Regions from separate parts of the Homo sapiens genome. Here regions 1, 3 and 4 are each linked to region 2. Evidence: promoter capture Hi-C in 16 types of primary human blood cells and fetal thymus (Javierre and others, 2016). All regions are on one chromosome and are shown on one strand. Each heading gives the region's core, a stretch centred on a gene start or on the middle of the fragment in contact. The rest is flanking DNA. Distances are from core to core; before and after follow the strand shown.

Region 1 (4,707 bases), core at 93-2,592, 600 kb after region 2:
CTCTGAAAACAAAAAAGAGGAAGAAGGAAGAGCAGGGATTGAAAGGGAGGCCTGATGCTCTCGTCCCCCGCGTCCTCCACCCCAGCTAGCTGCTGCCTGCAGGCGAGGTCAGTTACATCTTGGCCCCATCAATGTCCCCCTGCCCTTGCCTGAGCAGGCCTCAGGCTGCAGAGTTGGGACGGGCCTCCCAGGCCCCCTTCGTGCTGGGCCTGTTGTGCTTGGCCCTGCCTGCGGTCTCCACCGAGAGGAGAACGTACTCAATTAACCTACAAAAAACAATAGCAAAAAGGGTCAGAGTGATTGTGAAAAAGAAAAGGTGCTGAAAGATTCTGGCAAACAGGCCCCCAGTGGGGGTGGACAAGGGCAGCCAAAGAGTTTGGCTAAAGTGGGAGAAAACTCAGCAGCGTGGGGGCACTGGTGTCCCCTTGAGGGGACAAGGTCAGCTAGGAAAACAGACTTACTCCATTCCTTGGCCTGTGGGCCTCCCATTTTTGAGTGTGGAGGCAAGGAAAACACAGCTGGAGCCAGGTCTCCTGGGTTCCCTACGCTGGGGTGGAGGGGGGCACAGAGAGCCTCAGGAAGTGTTTGCAGCATTGCGGGTCTTGCTGGCGTGGGGGCAGATTCTTACCTCCTCAGTTCCTGGAGGGAGAAGATCTTTATATCCCCAAAGCCTACAGCTCAAGGAATCAGCGATTAGCATAGTGGAGGGTTCTGCTAGGCAGTCTCTCTGTGTGGCTGGAGCTGAGGCCCCTGCCCTATGGCCCTCCCCTGGGGAGAGTGGCCTCTACTGTTAGCAATGATCCTCAGGTACTAAGGGCCAGGCACTGTACCAAGCACTCTATACATTTTACCCTAATTCATCCTTCCGATCCCACTGTGTGATAGCCTCTAGTTATCTGTTTATGTGCACATAGTAGGTATGCATATTTTTGTGTACCTACTATGTGCATATTTGTTGAGCACCTACCAGTGCCAGGTTCTATCCTTGGTGGTGGAAATTCAATGATGAGAAAAAACATGTGGGAATGCAGAACAGCTGTCAGGCTCCTCCATCACCAGTGGTAATGTAAAATGGTGCAACCACTCTGAAAAACGGCATGGCAGTTTCTCGTGACGTTAAACACACACTTACATGATCCCGCAATCCCGCTCCTGGTGTGTAACCTACAGAAATGAAAACCTTTGTTCATGCAAAATCTAGTACATGCAGGGTTAGAGCAGCTTATTCCCAATCACCAAGAACTAGAAACAATCCAAATGTCCCTCGCCTGGGGAATGGATTGACAAGTGGCTCATTCATAGGATAAATTACGAGTCAGCAATAAAAAGAAACAGACGATTGATGGATGCAACAACATGGATGAATCTCAGAAGCATTCTGCTGCAAGAAAGAAGCCCGTCCCCAAAGGCTGCAAGCTGTGTGTCTTTTATATGACACATATTAAATAGAAAAGGCAGAACTACAGAGGAGAGACCAGATCCATGATTGACATCGGGCAGGGTGGCAAAAGGGCCTCACTATCCAGAAGTTGCTTGAAGATATTTTTGGAGATGATGGAACTGTTCTGTGTCTTGATTTTGGTGATGGTTGCATGACTGTGCATTTATCAAAGCTCACAGAACTGTACTCCAAAAAGTGAATGTTACCGTATGTAAATTAAACATAAATTTAAAAAAAGAAAAACAGATATGAACCTTGCTTTTGTGGAAATTACGTTCCAATACATGGAGAGGAAATAAACAAATAGGCAAACAAATATACACTTAGTGAGGTGGGATATGGAGAAAAAAAAGGGACAGAAGAAGTTGGGTGGGGTGGAAATCTAGGTGAGCAATCAGGATGGGCCTCACTGAGGAGGTGACATTTGAGCAGAGGTCAGAAGGAAGCAAAAGAAGGAGCCATGTGGATACCTGGAGAAGATGGTTCCAGGCAGAAGGAAGGAGCTTGCTTGGTGTGTTTAAGGAACAGCAAGGAGGCCACGGCAGCTGGAGCACAGTGGGGAGTGCGGGGAGCTGAAATGGGGCAGAAGGTACCAGGAAGCCAGATCTCCAAGAGCTTTGAAGGCCATGGTAGAGTTTCAGTTCTTGCTCTGAGTGAGTGAGGTGAGAGCTCTGGGAGCCGAGCAGAGGAAGGCAGTGATGTACTTACTTATTTTAGCAATTGATCTGGTGCTGTGTGTGAGGCACAGACTGTCAGGGGTGAGGTGGAGTCAGGGACCAGCAAGGAGGCAGCTGCCACGGCCCAGGCGGGAAGCAATGCAGGCCTGGACCAGTGTGGTAGTGATGGAGGTGATGAGAAGTGGTCTCGCTGTGCATACAATTGAAGGTAGAACCCACAGGTTTTTCAGACCAATTGAAGGTAAGGCTTGTGTGAACGAGAGTTCTCGAGGGTAACTCCAGTATTTGGGGCTCAACTTCTGGAAGAATGGAGCTGTCATGTACAAAGATGGGAAAAGTGGCTGGAGAAACAGATTTGAGGAGAAAACCAGGAGTTCTTTTATTATCCTCAATTTAGCAATGAAGCAGCTCAGGCCCAAAGAGATTGACTCCCTCGTGCAAAGTCACCCAGCCAGTGTGGGATGCAGATGAAACTGGAAACAGGTCTGCCTAACCCCTGAGCTCTGTCCCTTCTGCAGGCTCCTACTCTAGACCAAGAAATGGCTGGGCTCAATGATACTCAAACTGTGGCCCCCTGAGCTTGTTAGAAATGCAAATTCCTGCGTTCCACCCAAGGGGGCATTTGACATGTGCCTGTGTTGTTTGCATGGGCTTTGACTGCAAGTAATCTGTCATCTAAAAGAGGTGAAACTGCAAGTTTCCTAGAAAGTATGTCATATAATCAGAAGTCCTGAATTTGGGCTGGGCGCCGTAGCTCACACTTGTAAAACCAGCACTTTGGGAGGCTGAGGCAAGTGAATCCCTGGAGGTCAGGAGTTCGAGACCAGCCTGGCCAACCTGGTGAAACCCCGTCTCTACTAAAAATACAAAAATTAACTGGGCGTGGTGGTGGGCGCCTGTAATCCCAGCTACTAAGGAGGCTGAGGCAGGAGAATCGCTTGGGCCAGGGAGGCAGAGGCTGCAGTGAGCCGAGATTACACCACTGCACTCCAGCCTGGGTGACAGAGCAAGACTCCATCTCAAAAAAAAAAAAAAAAAGAAAGTAAAGAAAAAGAAATCTTGAATTTGATAATTCCAGGATTAATGGAATTAACCACCAATTGAGCTGGTTAATTTGGCAACTCGATTATGTCAGACACAAAGATGGGGGTCTCTACAATTCCCTTGGTCTTTCCCTTGTGGTCACAAGATGGCTGCTGCAGCTCCAAACGTTCTGACAACATCCAAAGATAAGACCAACAGGAGAGAAGTTTCTCAAGTGTCTCTATCTTATCACACACACACAAAAACTCTGTTTCAGAAGCTCCCAGGAGACATCCACTTGTGTCTCTGTGGCCAGAACCAGGGCATCTGCCTGCCTATAAAGCAATTGCTGGCGGAAAGGAATGACTTAGCCCAATCGCAATGGATGCCCTGGGGCTGGGGCTGAAGCATCTCTCCATTGGGCACATTGTCATCCGCCGTGCATGGAACACATTGGGCACTCTCTTAGCCAAGAAGGGGAGCTGGCTTTCCAGTAGACCAGCAATCTGTCTGCCGCAGCCCTCTGCATATGCTTTTGTGTATTATCTTATGAGTATATGTATAACCTTATCGAATAAGCTTATACCCAAATCACGGAGAAGCACCGCCAGAACTGATAGCAGAAGGGGTCAGAAAGAAATTATTAAGCTTGGGTCCTTCTTTTTCTTTTCTTTTTTTTTTTTTTTTTGACACGGAGTCTCGCTCTGTCACCCAGGCTGGAGTGCAGTGGTGCTATCTCCGCTCACTGCAGCTTCCGCCTCCAGGGTTCAAGCAATTCTCCTGCCTCAGCCTCCTGAGTAGCTGGGATTACAGGCGCGCGCCGCCACGCCCGGCTAATTTGTGTATTTTTAGTAGAGACGGGGTTTCACCATGTTGGCCAGGCTGGTCTCAAACTCCTGACCTCGTGATCCACCCGCCTCAGCCTCCCAAAGTGCTGGGAATACAGGCGTGAGCCACCGCGCCCGGCCAAGCTTGGGTCCTTCTATCAGACCATATAAGTTACTGTTTTAAAATAAATCCCACCATCTCTGCCTGGCACTGTTAGGTTGCCGTGTATATGAGGCAGAGGGGTGAGTTGTAAAATTTAACCTTGTGAGAGTGACTTCAATCTTGGTGATTGTTTGAGGCTTTCTTTTCCTTCTCTCTCTCTCTTCTTTCCAGTTCTTCACTCTAGAAAGTAGTTCGGGCTTCTTTTGATCTCTGAGAGACCCTGCTTAATCTCACGATAGCCCTGCAGGTGGGTTTGATTGTTTCTGCTGCACAGATGAGAACACAGGTCCGGGTGCAGCAGGGGCTCCCCGGGCCAGTCCTCCGGCTCAGCCAGCTCTCTCCTCTAAGGACTTGCAAAGAGTGGACGCTCACCCTGATTCCACTATGGAGCACTCAGGAAGGGAGTCCTGGTATTTCATTGACAAGGCTGGCAGACTGGACCAAGTTGGAACTAAGACTTGCCCTTGTCACCCACACGGGACCCCCAAGACTTTTTCCCCCATCTCCTGTACACACTCAAAATTACAGCCTCCACGAACTGCTATGAAAACACTTTTTAAATAGATGCCTGGCGCG
Region 2 (5,059 bases), core at 83-2,582:
CTCCCCCAGGCACACACATACAGGGATGATTGTGGCAGGAAGGGCTGACCTACGGGGGTAGGCCTGACGCATAATGGGGGCTCTTGTTTCCGGGCTGAGCGTGCCATCTTTCTGTCTCCCTCTGGATTGAAATGGCTTCTCAGCCCGAGAGGCACTGCCTGTGCCCTGGATTCACAAGGTACACGCCTCCCTGGGAAGCAAAGGCTGAGAGACAGCGGCTCTCTCTCTCTCTTTCTGCATCTGCCGGGAGAGCTGCAGCTGGTATTTTTCCACAGGCCTTCGCTGCGATCTCAAGGCCTAGTTTTTCCCAGCCAGGCCCCGAGTCCGAGAGAGGGTTAACAGGCAGGAAGCCGAAGGCATCGCAGGCTAATACGGAAGTCAGATTTGTGTTTAACTGACAGGTTTAGCAGGTCTCGGCCGCGGGGGAGGGGCCGGGAGGGAAGGGAAGTTTGTAGATCCAGGCATGTGGCCTGCGAGGAGGGCTTTGGGTTTTTCTTAGGGTAAGGACCGAGAGGGGTCCCCCTTGGCATCGTGGCAGGGCGACAGGAACCCACGTTGATTTTGCCTGCAGGACTGGCTAAGCAGGGCGCGAGAGGCCCACGGCTCCCTGGCCTGCCTTGCAAGGAGGCATGGGGACAATGACTATGCAAACTTGACCACTCTGCTCCCCTCCTCCCCTCAGCAGCTACTCCTCGCTCCTCTGAGAAGCCAGGGCTGCTCTCTGCTGATTTTTCGGGGCTCCCCCGGGCTGCCTGCTTCCCCCAGCTTCTCAGAGGCCTGCCTCAAGCCCCTTTTTCTGGCCCCTTGGCTGTTTCCCCGGGACTCCCCACTCCCCAGCTTCCCCTTCCCCTTGGAGAGCCACCCTGCTGGACTGTTCTAGAAAAAGGCTGGCCTTCCTCCCTGGACAAGGGCCGTTTCTCTGGGGGCAGGTGAGGGTGAGCCGTTCCAGCCCACTCCAAGAAACTCCCTTCCCAGGGACCTCCGGGCCTCAGGCTTTCCTGGAGCAGGTCAGGCTGGCTGCCCTGGCTGGCCCGTGCCGGGAAATCTAGCCAGGGTGCAGGAGAAGTGCGTGTGGGGGCCCCTTTCCCAAGTTTTTCTTGCTGCAAAAGGCCTAGCTTAGCCTGTCTTTTTCTATGCACAGGATGGCTCTTGCTCACCCGAGCCTCACAAAGATAATCGCTCAGGAAGTGTTTCAGCCAATCCGGGGCGGCTTTACACTCCGATTTGCCGGGGCAGCCAATCGGGGATGAGCTTTTATTAGGCGGCCAGATCATCAGCCGAAGTGCCAAACCCTTTTTCTGTGAGAACTAGGAGCCTGTCCTCCATGTTTTATAAGTATTGACATTACACAGTGTTAACAATGCATCCACAGAGGTAAGCTCGACTTTTTAACCATCTTTTTTCCCCCTCCCTCTGAGACATCCGAATTGTGGGCGAGCAGTGTGATTTCTCTGTGGCTGGCCGTGCCACACTCACCCCCAGAGCACTTATGTTAACTTGGAACTGTTTAGAGAGAATTTTTTTGCTTTCTTGGGTCACATGGCTCAGTAGCCATTAGCCATAGCTTGATTTTGCAAACTGGCAAGGGCCTGGCACACCTTTCCTTCCACCAGGGCATGGTGTTTCTGGAAGAGTTTGAAGCTAGATCCTGGTATGCCAAAAAAGAAGCTTTTTTTTTTCCTTCTTTTTTTTTTTTTCTTTCCCTCTTCCCTCTCTCTTCCCCTCTCTCTCTCTCTGAGCAGTTCCCCCCCTCCCACCCCTGCACTATTGTCTTCTCTTTTGCCACATGCCCTGCTGGGGGAAGAAAATGGAAGGTAAGCAAACAGGCTCCTCTCCAAGGAGAGCTCATGGCAGACAGCAGAGCAGGCAAGTTTGCCTCTCCAAAGAGGTTCTGGGAAGGCTGGATAAGTTTTGACAAGAGAGGAGCGTGTTTGCAAAAGAATTGTGCCCTCAGCAGAGCAGTGCTAAGGAGAGTCTAGCTCCTGGGGCCTAGGTGGGTGGTGGTGTCTGTACACGGTCTTCTCTTATTCTACAGAGCTTCTGCACTTGAAACTACATTGTTCAGCCTGTTTTCCTGACTTAGGTTGCTACAGAGTGTTCTGCAAGCCAGCCTACAGCCAGCAAATGTTTCTGAAAGTGTTTTCTAGGCTTTGGAGGAAGTTTTTTGGAGTAGGGATGGGGACTGGGGGGTGGGGGGAGAGATCTTGGACAACATCCTGCAAAAAAAAAAAAAAAAAAAAATCTGCAAGGATTCTGAATCCCTTAGCTTTCTACTCTTGCATGATTTTCAAGGAACTAATGTTACCTTTTATCCTTGTTTTCATTTTCCTGTCCCTTTTATACATTGTATCCTCCTCTCTTCTCCTGTGTCATGGAGTGTAGAGGAAATAAAATCATGTCTGTGGCTCATGACAGCATTCCATATTCAGTTGTTGGGTTGTGTTGTTGTTGTTGTGTGTGTTTTTAATAATACCATGTAACTGTTTAAAAAAATTTCCTTTTTGATCAAGTCCCAAATCTGCCAGCCTGTTCTCTCTTCCTAACTGTGGAAAAATGAGACGGTTGCTTGAACATTTGTTGGGTAAGTAAAGCAATCCATTTCCTCTGTGACCATGTTTGAAGAGTTTTGCGAACATTTGGGGTCTGTTTGTAATAGTGGGTCTTGGCTACAGGAGTTGGGGGCTTCATTAGCAGGAACAAAATAAGGGCTTTTTAAAGAGTGTCTTGATTTTAGGTGACTGTTTGAATCCACTGTTTTTCCTGATAACCTGCAGCTAGGATTGAAGATTATACTTCCTGTTTACCCTGAGTCAGGGGAGAAATGTTCAGTTCATTGTGACTTGACTCTAGACCTTTAATGGGGTTTGTTTGGATATTCAAACTGTGAGTAGGTGATGTGCTTGTGAAATGTCATGAAACTGCTTGTTCTTAGAGGTGCAGAGCCCTAAAAACATTGGTGGTGTAGAAGCTGGTGGTGGTGGTGGTATGTGTGTGTTGGGGGGGTGGTGTCAGTGTGCTCATGTTTTAGGACTTATGTATAGTGCAAAATCTCATCTACCACCAGACTGGGTTTGATTCAGGACTCACTGACCAACACATTTTGGCCTTTTTTCAGGTCTCCTCCACACATCTGTATGCATGCTGGCCCCACATAAGATTTCTCACTTTTTACATTTCCCTTGACCACTTAAGGCTGCAGCTAGAAGTTAAGTGGGAAAAGTAGAGTCTTGTTTAGCAGTACCTTCAGAATTTCCCTAGAAGTTCAGTACATAAATTTTCAGCTTGGAGACCAATCCGACATGACCGTAAATGCAGGAAATATATTCAATTGCTGTGTTATGTCAACTTTATGGAGTCAGTAATCTTTTTTCTTTCAAATGAGTGTCCAGTAGCCCACTTTCTGACACCGAATTGGAAAAAGGCTCATTTAATCAGCAGAAACGTACCACATTCTAAGTTGAGAAAAGTCTGTGCAAGGCAGGCCAGCTTAGCTTCTTAGAGTAAAACTGCAGGCAGTTAATGATGTTATATACTTAAAACTGAACAGTGCCACTGCCCCAAACAAGTAAGTTCAGACACTCAGCTATTTTCTTTGTTCTTATCTCCTTGCTGTAAATGGAAATTACATATCGAGGTTCTTGTGGCCTCCCTAGAAGCAATATCTAATCATAAGACTCCTGGTTTGGTGCCTTCAACGTTTGCATAATACTGTGTTTGTTGGGCTGGAAGGGAACTTAAGGGCAAGGCATTTGTCCTCTAAAAGCTTGCATTAAAATGGCTCCCACAGGTTTGGAGAGCCAAGATCTGTTTTCAAATGTACAGCCCCCAGCAAGTTCCCAACCCTGGACCAAGCTAGCCACTTTTCCTCTGGTACTGTGACCCCTACCAAGCATGAGTCTGTAAAAAGTTAATTGCTTTCAAAGTAGCATTATTTTCCAGTTTCAGGAAAGGGGGAAAAAAATAAATGTCTGCATTGCAGCAGGACTAGGTAGGGACGGCAGTACTGGCTCCCAGAGCAGCCCAATGGGGTTCTTCTACTCTAGCTTTTAAACCAATAGACTTGGAGGAAAGGTTAAAGATTGACAATTGCAGTGGCCGAACTAAGAACGGGCCTTCTGGAAATTTCTACCATCTTTGTTCCTTTTAGGAAAAGCAGATCTGCCAAGCAGAAGCGTCTCCTACCTTCCATTCCTAGGTCATCTCCCTTCCCTGCTTCCCCCCAACCCCCCTTCTTTTTCTCATCAAGGTAGAATGTTCTCTCTGCCACGTTTGTAAATTGCAGAAGGAGGAACAGAATGTTGGGCTGTTTTCCTTTTTCCTTCTGCCTCCTCAGTCCCCAAAGAGGATACACAGCTGCAAGGAGCAAACACAGACACACTGAAGCTTTTGATTCCTCTCCTTTTTTTTCCTTCAAGACCCTCCAGGATGGATTCACTTTCTGCTTTGGGAAATTAAGTGGCATTCACGTGGGGGAGGGGGAGTAACTGCTTTTATTAGCTCCAGAAAATGGTCAGTGTTCAGTCTGTAACTAGGAATTAATTATATATAATCACTCAGTAAACTTTCTACAGAGTTTTTCTAATTGCTGAGCCTGATCATAGTTAGCCCGTTGGCGCCAAGTCCAGTTACTTTTATAATTAACAGCTCAAAGATTTGAGTCAGAAAGAAACAATTGGGGGCCTCTTGGATTATAAATTAGGGATGAAAACAATAGCTTTTTTTCCTTTCTTTCTTGTCATCCCTTTTATTTTCAACAAAACATTTCCCCTTTTCTTTCCCTGGGAGAACCAGTGGGGAGACTGCATCAGGTCTTAAATAGGATGAGGGGGGAGACACTTTTTAGGAAGTGGGGTGACAGTAACCTAGAAAACCCTGGAGGCAAAGGTAGGTTTTTAAAAGTCCAGCCACTTGCAACGCGTGATGTCTTTGTTTCTTTTGCCCTCTTTCCCCTTCTCTCTCCTGTGGCAGAGGCAGCAGACATTTGTCAGCCTGGGAACCCTCAATCTGGCTTTGCCTCTGGTTGACTCTGGAAAGAAAGATACATTCAAAGGGGCCTTCG
Region 3 (5,015 bases), core at 1,355-3,854, 810 kb after region 2:
GCCAGCATCTTACCTTCTCTGCTGACCTTGCTTCCTGCCAACCTGAGCAAACAGAAGCAATCGGTCATGCTACTCTTAATGAATAGTTTTGGAGCACTCACAACATGGCAGACACTATTGTAGGCACTTGGGACATATCAGTGACCAAAACGGACAAAGTCCCTGCTCCGGTGGAGTTGACTCTAGTGGTAGGTAATAGCTGATGTGATACTTACCATGTGCCAGAAACAAAGTGACCCCAGGAGGTGCATACTTTTATTGCACCATTTTACAGATGAGACAGCTGAGACACAGAAAGGTTGTGATATGTACCCAAGTTCACATAGCTGGCAAGTGGTGGAGCAGAAATTTGAGCCCAGGCAGTCCAGAGGTCATGCCCTTAACATTACTCTGCTCTGCGTATATCAGAGGATACTTTTCACAGGTGCATACACGCTGCCTGTTCATTCGCCATCATCTGTACCTATTTCCTCTGCTTTCCCACCTGCTATTAAGGATGAACGACCCCTGCTCTATTCTAAGACCAGCCCCACCTTGCATGTTCTCAGTCTCACTCTCTGCCTCCACCCCTACAGGTGTCACTCCAGGGAGTCTCCCCTTTGTCAATGTCTCCCCTCTCGATGAGATCTCCCACCTGCAAACATGCTATAGATTTCCTCCCTTTACATGAATTCTCTTGGTCCAATTTCCCATAGCTACCAGCCACTGCTTCATCTCCCTGCTGTTTTAGTGTAGAAATTACCGGAAAGAGTTGTCTGTATCTGTGTTTCCTATTCTTCTCCTTCCCGTCTCTCCTGGACCCAGTCTAGTTGGATTTTGGCCCCAAAAGCCACCGAACTCTCCCTGCCAAGGTCAACAGTGACCTCTAAGCGGCTAATAGGCATTGCTCAGTCCTCATCATTCTTGACCTGTTGGCTGCATTTGACGTACTTGATCACTCCTTTCTCCTTGAAACATTTTGTTTATTTGGCTTCCTAAGCACCACATTGGTTTCTCAGTCTCTTTTGCTGGTTCCTCCTTATCTAAGAGCCCCTAACCTTGGAGCGCCTTGAGGCATGTCCTTGGATGTCTTTCCTCCCCAGTGACACACTCTCTTGAGGAATCTCATGGTGCACATGGCTTTAGGTAGGGATATAAAGTTGGGAGACATCTAATAATCAGACTCCCAATGTTATAACTCCAGCCTGACCTCCCCTCTGAATTCCTGACTTCTATTTCCAACCACGTCGTCAAAAGCTCCACGGAATGGCTCAACTGAATCTCAAATTTAAGAGTTCTGAACTGAATTCCTCCTCTCTCCCCCTCCACTCAAACCTGTTTTGACCACAGAGTTCTCATCTCAGGAAATGACACCTTGGTGCTTCCAGTTGCTCAGACACAAAAGCACCTCGTCATCCTTGACTCCCCTCTTTCTCTCACACCCCACAACCAATCAGCCTCTGCAAATCTTGTTGACTCTGCCAACAAAATGTGTTCAGAATCCAAGCTTTCCTTACTACTCCTCTGCCATCGCTCTTAACATAGTGCAAGCCCCACGAAGGTAGGGACTTCTGTTTTTTTCATTCCTGTTTCTCCAATGGTTAACACAAAGTCGTTGCTTGATAAACACTTGTTGAATGAATAAATATAAGGATGATAGAATATAAAAGTCCCTCACAGGCCAACTAGTTCACCCTCCTCACCCCTAAATTATAGAGGAGACCCTGAAGTTCAGAAAGAATAGAAGGTCCAGAATCATACAGCAAGCCACCAAGACTATTAATTCAAGTGAAATCGTTTCTCTTCTTCTCTCTCCTCTTACTCATTCTCTCTCTTTCACCTGTGCTTCTCGCTCCATGACTCTTTCATTCTCTTGGGCCAGTTGCCTTCACAAAACTGTAATAATGGACTCAAACAGGGCAGACTTTCATCCTCACATCCTCAGGTACTGCATGGGAATTGGGCTCTTCCCTGACAGTTCCAGCGAGAGTAATCCTGGGGAAGGCTCTGATTGGTTCAGCTTGTGTCACGTGGGTATACAGTGACTTACTCTGATTGGTCCACCTGGGTAACTACAAGGGTGGAGTCTGTTAGCAGAGCCTGGTGATGGGTATGTGGGGCAGGGGCAGTGGACAGACACCCACCCACCCACCTCCTGATAGAGATGCCCTTCAATTTCCTTGTGTGCAGGTGGAGGTCCTGGCACTTGGGGTTCTGGAAGGCCCTTGCCCCACTGCAGGCTGCCTGGGACGCCTTCTCCCAGCCTGTTCCAGCCAGCTGTGGCCAGCTGCTGACCCAGCTCCTCCTGTGTGCCTCCCTGGCTGCTGCTGCTGCAGGTCTGGTTTATCACTGGCTGGCATCCTTGCTGCTTTATCCTCCTGGACCTTCAGCCATGGTTGCCACTGTCTGTGGCCTCCTGGTCTTCCTGAGCCTGGGCCTGGTACCCCCAGTCCGCTGCCTGTTTGCACTCAGCGTGCCCACCCTGGGTATGGAGCAGGGCCGCCGGCTGCTCCTGTCCTACAGCACTGCCACCCTGGCCATTGCTGTGGTGCCCAACGTCCTGGCCAACGTGGGTGCGGCCGGGCAGGTGCTGAGGTGTGTCACCGAGGGCTCCCTGGAGAGTCTCCTCAATACCACTCACCAGCTGCATGCAGCATCCAGGGCTCTGGGCCCCACAGGCCAGGCAGGCAGCCGGGGCCTGACATTTGAGGCCCAGGACAATGGCTCTGCCTTCTACCTTCACATGCTCAGGGTCACTCAGCAGGTCCTGGAGGATTTCTCTGGCCTGGAGTCCCTGGCCCGGGCAGCAGCGCTAGGGACCCAGCGAGTGGTCACAGGGCTGTTTATGTTGGGCCTCCTGGTGGAGTCGGCATGGTACCTCCATTGCTACCTGACAGACCTGCGGTTTGACAATATCTACGCCACTCAACAGCTGACCCAGCGGTTGGCACAGGCCCAGGCTACACACCTCCTGGCCCCTCCACCCACCTGGCTGCTCCAGGCGGCTCAGCTGAGGCTGTCACAGGAGGAGCTGTTGAGTTGTCTTCTAAGGCTGGGGCTGCTTGCCCTGCTCCTCGTGGCCACGGCTGTGGCGGTGGCCACAGACCATGTAGCCTTCCTCCTGGCACAGGCTACTGTGGACTGGGCTCAGAAGTTGCCAACTGTGCCCATCACGCTCACGGTCAAGTATGATGTAAGTGTGATGATGGGAAAAGGGAAGGGAGTCATTGTTTTGAGGGCAGGGGGAGAATCTGTTAAACCCTTGACTTGTGATGAAATTTGACTTGCCTCCAAGAAACAGCCCTTGAATCATCCATGGGGCCCCATACCATGGGCAGAGGGACTCATCGGATACCCACAACAGCTCTAGGAAGTGGTTTCTATTTTCACTTCCTATTGCAGTTGAGGATGCTGAAACCCAGACACCTTAAAATAACTTGCATCCAAGGTCACCCTTCACAAGTGGCAGCTTGTCCTAGCCTCATTTTCCACATTTGTACAAATTGAATCGATCCTCCTAATCCTAAAAGGCTATTGTGTCTTACAATGTGGTATTGTCTTAAAGTACCTAGTAAGCTCCATGGCACATAAGAGATTATTTAATAAAGAGTGGCTATTATTAATAGCTTACATCTGTCTATGTCAGACTGGAGGAGGACTTTGGAATGGCCTTGATCAGGAGGCATCCAACTATAGCCTTCAGGACAAATCCAATGGCTTCTTGGTTTTGTAAATAAAGCTTTTTTAGAACACAGCCATGCCATTTGTCAATATATTGTCTGTGGCTGCCCTACAAAGGCAAAGTTGAGTAATTGCAACAGAGACTGTATGTCCTGCAAAGCCTGAAATATTTGCTATTTTAATAGTGATATAGAAAATATTTACTATCGACTTATAATCGGATATATTACTATCAGATCAAGAGTTGTGTTTTTCGATCCTTTCTTTTGCCACGGATCTTTTTATTTTTAATTTTTAGTAGTGAGGTCTCACACAAAAGTCCATTGCATAAAACATATCAAAGTGTCAAACTTCGAGCTAATAATATTAACAGTTTATATTTATCAAGTACTTATTACATATTAAGAAAGTGCTTTTCAGACTGCACAAAATCAATTTAATCAATTTAAGGAGTCATAAATAGTGTTTTTAATGAAATAGAATCAACTGGAAAATTATAAGATTACATCTTAGGCAATAAGGGAGTGTATGGTTTTTGAATATTTTCTTCAATTACAAAACAATCTCTGCTTTGAAGGTACTGTAAAATGCATTTCTTTTCTTTCCTTTTTTGAGACAGGGTTTCACTCTGTTGCCCATGCCAGAATGCAGTGGTGCAGTGGTGCAATCACAGCTCACTGTAACCTTGACCTCCTGGCTCAAACGAGCCTCCCACTTCACCTACCTCTGCCTTCCAAGTAGCTGAGACTACAGGCATGCACCACCACCACCCAGTTAATTTTTAATATTTTTTTTAGAGATGGTGTCCCACTATGTGGCTCAGGCTGGTCTCAGACTCCTGGGCTCAAGCATTCCTCTCACCTCAGCCTCCCAAAGTGTTGGGATTACAGGCATAAGCCACCATGCCTGGCCTGTAAAATGCATTTCTTACCATAGGTCACAGTAAAGAAATGTGTCAGGCAATGTTCTAAGCATGTTCCCTGATTTACTCATTTTCACCAAATCTCAGATAGTCATCAATTGCAAGTCACACCATTACTTTATGTATCCTTAGGGCAGAAAATGCTACCAATTCAACCTTGACACAATGCTTTCTTATCATTTAGAATTTTTATTGTATTTGTATAAAATAGTTCACTTATTATTTAACATAGGTTTATTTTGCCATATCTTTCTCGCGTATACATAAAAAGAAAAATAGGGGGCTGGGCATGGAGGCTCATGCCTATCTATAATCCCAGCACTTTGGGAGGCCGAGGTGGGTGGATCACCTGAGGTCAGGAGTTCAAGACCAGCCTGGCCAACAACATGGTGAAACCCCATCTCTACTGAAAATACAAAAATTAGCCAGGCAT
Region 4 (4,757 bases), core at 814-3,313, 940 kb before region 2:
GCCATGCATAGACAATGCCACTTGGCATCTGATAAGTAACATTTGGTAGCAAGCCCGAATCAACTTTTCATCATCCTAGACAAGAGATGCATTTGGGACTCTTCAGTCTCCCCTGAAGCCCTCAGGCAGGCTTCTGTCATGGCTGTTTGGGATTATGATAACAGTGCTGGGAGGTCCCCACCTGCACCTCAGGCCAGACTGGAGAGGGCGAGAAAGCAAAATTAAAATGTCAGATTCCTACTGGGGATTAGGAGGCACTCAACTCTAGCCAAGTTTTTTTCTCCCTGAAGAAGGGGAAAAAAAGAAAATAGAAAACCCAACCCCAATTCTCCCATCCTCCTCCACAGTCCATAAAATTATAAGTTAAGGGATAAAAAGAAGAGACATAATTCAGCAAACCAGTGAGGAACACTTTGCCTGAACTGATACATTTTTCTATCAGTTTGAGGCCAGCAAAGCAAAAGAATTTCTGTTCACACCTCTGGTGTGAACAAGGGCTGTTTCCAGGAGAGAGATACCTCTAAAATAGGGAAATAGAAGAAATTGCAGTCTGTCAATTATTCACAGTTTAGTCTAACAACTATCTAAAATGTAGCCAGAGACAGTGTGGGGAGCAGATTTTAAAAAGGGCTCCCAATGGTCCCCACTTCCTGGTATCTGTGCCCTTGTGTGATCCCTTCTCGTTGAATGTGGGCTAGACCTAGGGACTTGCTTCAAACAAATAGAATATGGGAAAAATGATGGGGTGCTACTTTCGAAATTAGGGTAGAAAAAAGACTGATGTAATGTCTTATTCTCCCCATCACCGGCTTGCTCTGGGGGAGCCAGATGCCAAGTGCTGAGCTCCCCATGGGGTGAGAATCAAGGGAGGCCTCCAGCCAACAGCCACAAAGAACCAAAGGCCTCAGGTCCGCTGTCTTGAGGAACTAAATCCTGCCAAAGACCACTTGAATAAGTTCAAAAGCAGGTCCTCCAGCCCCAGGTGAGTCTTAGGATGAAACCACAGCCCCAGCTGATACTGTTTGCAGCCTTGAGAGCTAGAGAACTCAGCCAAGCCACATCCAGTTTCCTGAACCACGAAACTGCTAGATGACAAATACATGTTTCTTTGAGCCACTAAAATGTGGGGTTGCTTGCTATCTAGCAATAGATAACTAATGCCCATGGCTAAAGTGGGTGGGCATACAAGCCTGCCCAGGGCAATACTATTTGACCAAATTTTCCTGCTGAAATTTCTTTGACGGTTTTGAAACCAGATGATCCCAGCTTAGACTGAAGCAGCCATTCTCAAATGTTTAGGTGTGAAGACTTCATTCAAATGGAACCTTATGGAAAAGTTCTATTTGTCAAACAGATCAAAAACAAGCTGCTCTGGCTGAACTGGCGGTGAGGGCTCCATTAGACACCCAGCTCTGACTAACGTCCCCAGAGGAACCTTCTGTCCACCTTAAAAATTCCGTAGGAACCATTGGTCTAGCTGGTTGGGGCAGGCCTGCCCCAAGAATACTCAGTGATAGGAGGTGTCATCAATGACTGACTTTAAGAAAAAGCAATTTTCCCCCTGCCCTCACCACGAGTATAGACTTGGGTGAGCCCCAGGTTAAGGCAAGGAGGATGGAAAGCTTCTGCAGCGTCTGCTGCAGGGCCTTTCTCCTTCCTCCCAGCTCTCCCTGTTCTGTCCCTACCCTGAGCTCTGCTGTTCCCCAGAGACATGCCTCCATCAGCCAGCCAGAAGCCCCTGCTGAAGGTGGACTGGTATGGCTCATTCAGCCATCCTGCCTAGAAGTTGCTCAGTTATAAAAGGGAAAGAAGGAAAACCAAAAAGGAAGGAATCTCCAATGCTGGAGTTTCATACTCAGGGCAGGCTGGTGGGGAGATGGGCAGCCTTGCTCCATGCTGGTCACTGTGAGAGAGGCCTGGAGTGTTCTGCTGCCCCGAGGTGCAGAGATGGAGATGGGGCAGAGGCACTGGGTCCCCAGCCATGCCTCTCTCTGTAGTCATGAGCTTCTCACCTCCTGCTGCACAGACCTGTGGTTCCACTCAGATCCCAGCACAGAATTGCACCTGACATTGGGTCTCCTGGTTCTCGGCAGCTGGATCTGGTTCTGTCCCTGTGGGGAGGTGGCTGCACCTGCAGGTCCTCCCGGGATCCTGACTGATGCACAATAGACAAATCACCATGTGAGGAAACGCTTCAGGGAGGAGGGCGTCTCCACTCCCCAACAACCCAGCAAGACAAATCCAAAGGGATCCAGGAGAACGGAGCTAGCAGGAGCCTGCTGCTAAGGAGAACGAGTCGAGTGTTCTCATGTTTCTGAGGTTATCTAACAAGATGCACAGACTCACGTGGGACAGACATCATTTCAGGGCAAAGATGATACGCTGAGTGTGGGTTGGGTATTTGTGGCTTGAATTTTCAAAAGCATTTTAGGTGCATAGAAAACTATTCTGCAACAAACCATTTCACAAAGGATATCAAACTTTACAAGCACAGTGGAAGCTTCTAGTGTAACTCTCCACCATCATGTTTGCCTCCCTCCCTCTGAGAATCACACCTGAACTTTAGGTTTACTATGCTCGTGTATTTCACTTTCACTGCATTTTCATGTATGACCACTTTTCCAGTTTATTTTAACCTCTGTAGAGTACTCCACGCCATGAGCTCCAGCTGGTGGACATCCGGGCTGGCTCTGTGTTTTTCATGATCACAGACAAACAAAGCTGCCATGAATGTTCCAGTGCCTGGGTGCATGTGACACACTTGGGGCCAATGAGATGCAACAGGCCTTTTATTGTGGCTTCTGAGAGCAGCAGAGGCTCTTTTCTGCCGGGCTGAATCTGTCCTCAGCCATGACAGGAGATACTCTCTAAGAATGGTCCTGAGAGGGAAAAAGAAGAGCCAAGAGGCCAGGAGACACTCGTCCGGACCTGATGACATCATTGCAGCCTCTAGATCCAGCTGTGCCTGCAACGAACAAGGCATTCCTGGCACATTTTAGTCACCTGATGTAATAAAATTCTTTCATTTAAAGCTATTTAACTCGTTTTCTGTTGCATGCAACCAAGAGTGCTGACTGATTAAATCTTCCAATTATATGATGTTTTTACTTTAAAAGGAGTATTCAGTGCCTTCACCTGAAAGGAGCAATAATGGTAGTATTGAAGGCACACAGCAGTCCAGTGGTACTTAGAGGGTCCCTAAAATTATACTGTGTGGCCGGTTACTACTCAGTCCTTAGATTCAGCTGGTTCAGCAAGAAGAGTCATCAAGCTATCAGCTCTCTTCCCTCCTTTCTCCTGAAGGTGTCCTTCTTTACCTTTAAGACAGAGCACCCAACTAGCTTTGGCTGTTTTCAATTAGGCCTTCAGCTAAGAAATGGAAGGAAAATTTAAGGCCAGAATCATCGGAATGCGATGACGTGTACTTTCAAAAATTTTCCAGGAGGAGCCGACCTCATTCAGGACTTTGATGCTGGATTGAGTGCTCTGGTTCCACTCAAAGCTTAAGAATGCTTGACCTCTGATCTGTTAAGGCCTCAGACAAAGGGCAGACAATTACATGCAGGGAGAGAAAAATAGTTTTCTGGTTACAAAGATAATTTTTAATTGTTCTGCAATTGATGATTATCTAAATTTGAGTTTTGGTGTTTTTTTGTTGTTGTTGTCAACGTAAAGGAGTGAAGGATCCCACCAGCCTTCAGGCCTTGCTATTTAAGCAGGATGAACTAACACCTGCAGAATAATATCTGCATCTGTCACTGCTTAGTTGGATTTCAGGCCATGTCCTTTCGTCTTGCTAATCAGTTTTCCTGATTTCCTGGACTAATAACTCTTTCTCTGGTCTCCATTAGCTGCACATGCCATTTCTCTTGTAAAGACCTTTAAGTTTATGTTCTTATTTAAAGCAACGTTTGATGGACACCAGGCTTGCTTATTGAGTGTGTCTCTGACCCTAGGTCAAAGCAGAAAATGGGATTTTTGAGAAATGTCACTGAGGTCATGGTCGCCAGGATCAGCATAGTGAGCACAGACCCAGGGCTCAGAGGGCTACAGCAGGCAGCAGGAAACATCGTGGTGGTAAACTCCCGGGTCCTGTCTGAAGTCAAGTACCAAGGAGAGAGAATGGAAGCTTGGCAGTTCACTGAATTTATTCCAGAAGGCGAAGCTTGCACCTTCTCCTTGGTATTTGACTTCAGATAGAACCCAGGAGTTTACCACCACAATTCAGAGCTGACGAAGGACTGAGTTTTTCTAGATGAAAAAAAAAAAAGTTACCAAAGTGATTTGCACATTGTAGAACATTTCAATTCACAGATTTAACATCAGAGGCTTTAATGATTTGTAAATGACTCTGTGTGTTAATTGGGATGGCTTATGGGCAGTTAAAAGATCCCCAAATCTCAGCAGCTTAAAATAAGAAACAGCTAATTCTCTCAAATGCTATGTTTCCCTTCTGTGAATACAGTGGTGTCTGCACATTGTATTTGCTCAGGGCCCCAGCCTTCATCTTGACACATTTCTAGAAAATCACCATGACAGGTGGAAGCTAAAGTGGTTTAATGAACATTGGCTCAAAAATGATACACGCTGCTTCCACTCACATGTCTTAGACAACACCAGTCACATGACTGCACCAAACGGCAAGGTGGCAGGGAAGTGCAATTCTACCAAAAGGCAGGAAGGAAGCCCTTACATATTTAGCAAATAGCACTGATGGCCACCATACCCCATCACATGCAGCCATGCCAAGCTTGGCT

What was found. The method cuts DNA at HindIII sites, captures the fragments that hold promoters and counts their contacts. A CHiCAGO score of 5 or more calls a contact.
Region 1: a fragment that was not itself captured here is called in contact with the fragment with the promoter of ZMYND8 in region 2 in 2 of 17 cell types (M0 macrophages and M1 macrophages); the score reaches 6.3 in M0 macrophages.
Region 3: a contact is called between a fragment that was not itself captured here and the fragment with the promoter of ZMYND8 in region 2, in 2 of 17 cell types (M2 macrophages and megakaryocytes). The highest score is 7.1, in M2 macrophages.
Region 4: a fragment that was not itself captured here is called in contact with the fragment with the promoter of ZMYND8 in region 2 in 1 of 17 cell types (endothelial precursors); the score reaches 5.5 in endothelial precursors.

What each region holds. Positions count from the first base shown.
Region 1 is chr20:46,752,827-46,757,533 of GRCh38, reverse strand. No RefSeq gene overlaps it. Among named protein-coding and RNA genes, the nearest start is that of SLC2A10, 46 kb to the right of the region's middle. The HindIII fragment of the contact is 4,761 bases long and covers 1-3,722 here.
Region 2 is chr20:47,352,972-47,358,030 of GRCh38, reverse strand. ZMYND8 (zinc finger MYND-type containing 8) reads left to right here and starts at 1,332. Exons shown (of 23, transcript NM_001281775.3): 1 at 1,332-1,374. The coding sequence starts at 1,361. It overlaps LOC101927377 (a long non-coding RNA gene), which reads right to left. Exons shown (of 2, transcript NR_134501.1): 2 at 3,398-5,026. RefSeq lists enhancers at 1-292, 1-321, 1,072-1,366, 901-1,508, 1,352-1,521 and 2 more. The HindIII fragment of the contact is 2,834 bases long and covers 1-1,670 here.
Region 3 is chr20:46,543,484-46,548,498 of GRCh38, reverse strand. OCSTAMP (osteoclast stimulatory transmembrane protein) reads left to right here. Exons shown (of 3, transcript NM_080721.3): 2 at 2,170-3,172. Among named protein-coding and RNA genes, the nearest start is that of OCSTAMP, 4.7 kb to the left of the region's middle. RefSeq lists enhancers at 3,412-3,481, 2,688-3,539. The HindIII fragment of the contact is 2,232 bases long and covers 1,489-3,720 here.
Region 4 is chr20:48,294,345-48,299,101 of GRCh38, reverse strand. No RefSeq gene overlaps it. Among named protein-coding and RNA genes, the nearest start is that of LINC00494, 63 kb to the left of the region's middle. RefSeq lists enhancers at 2,220-2,964, 2,965-3,708, 3,709-4,454. The HindIII fragment of the contact is 878 bases long and covers 1,625-2,502 here.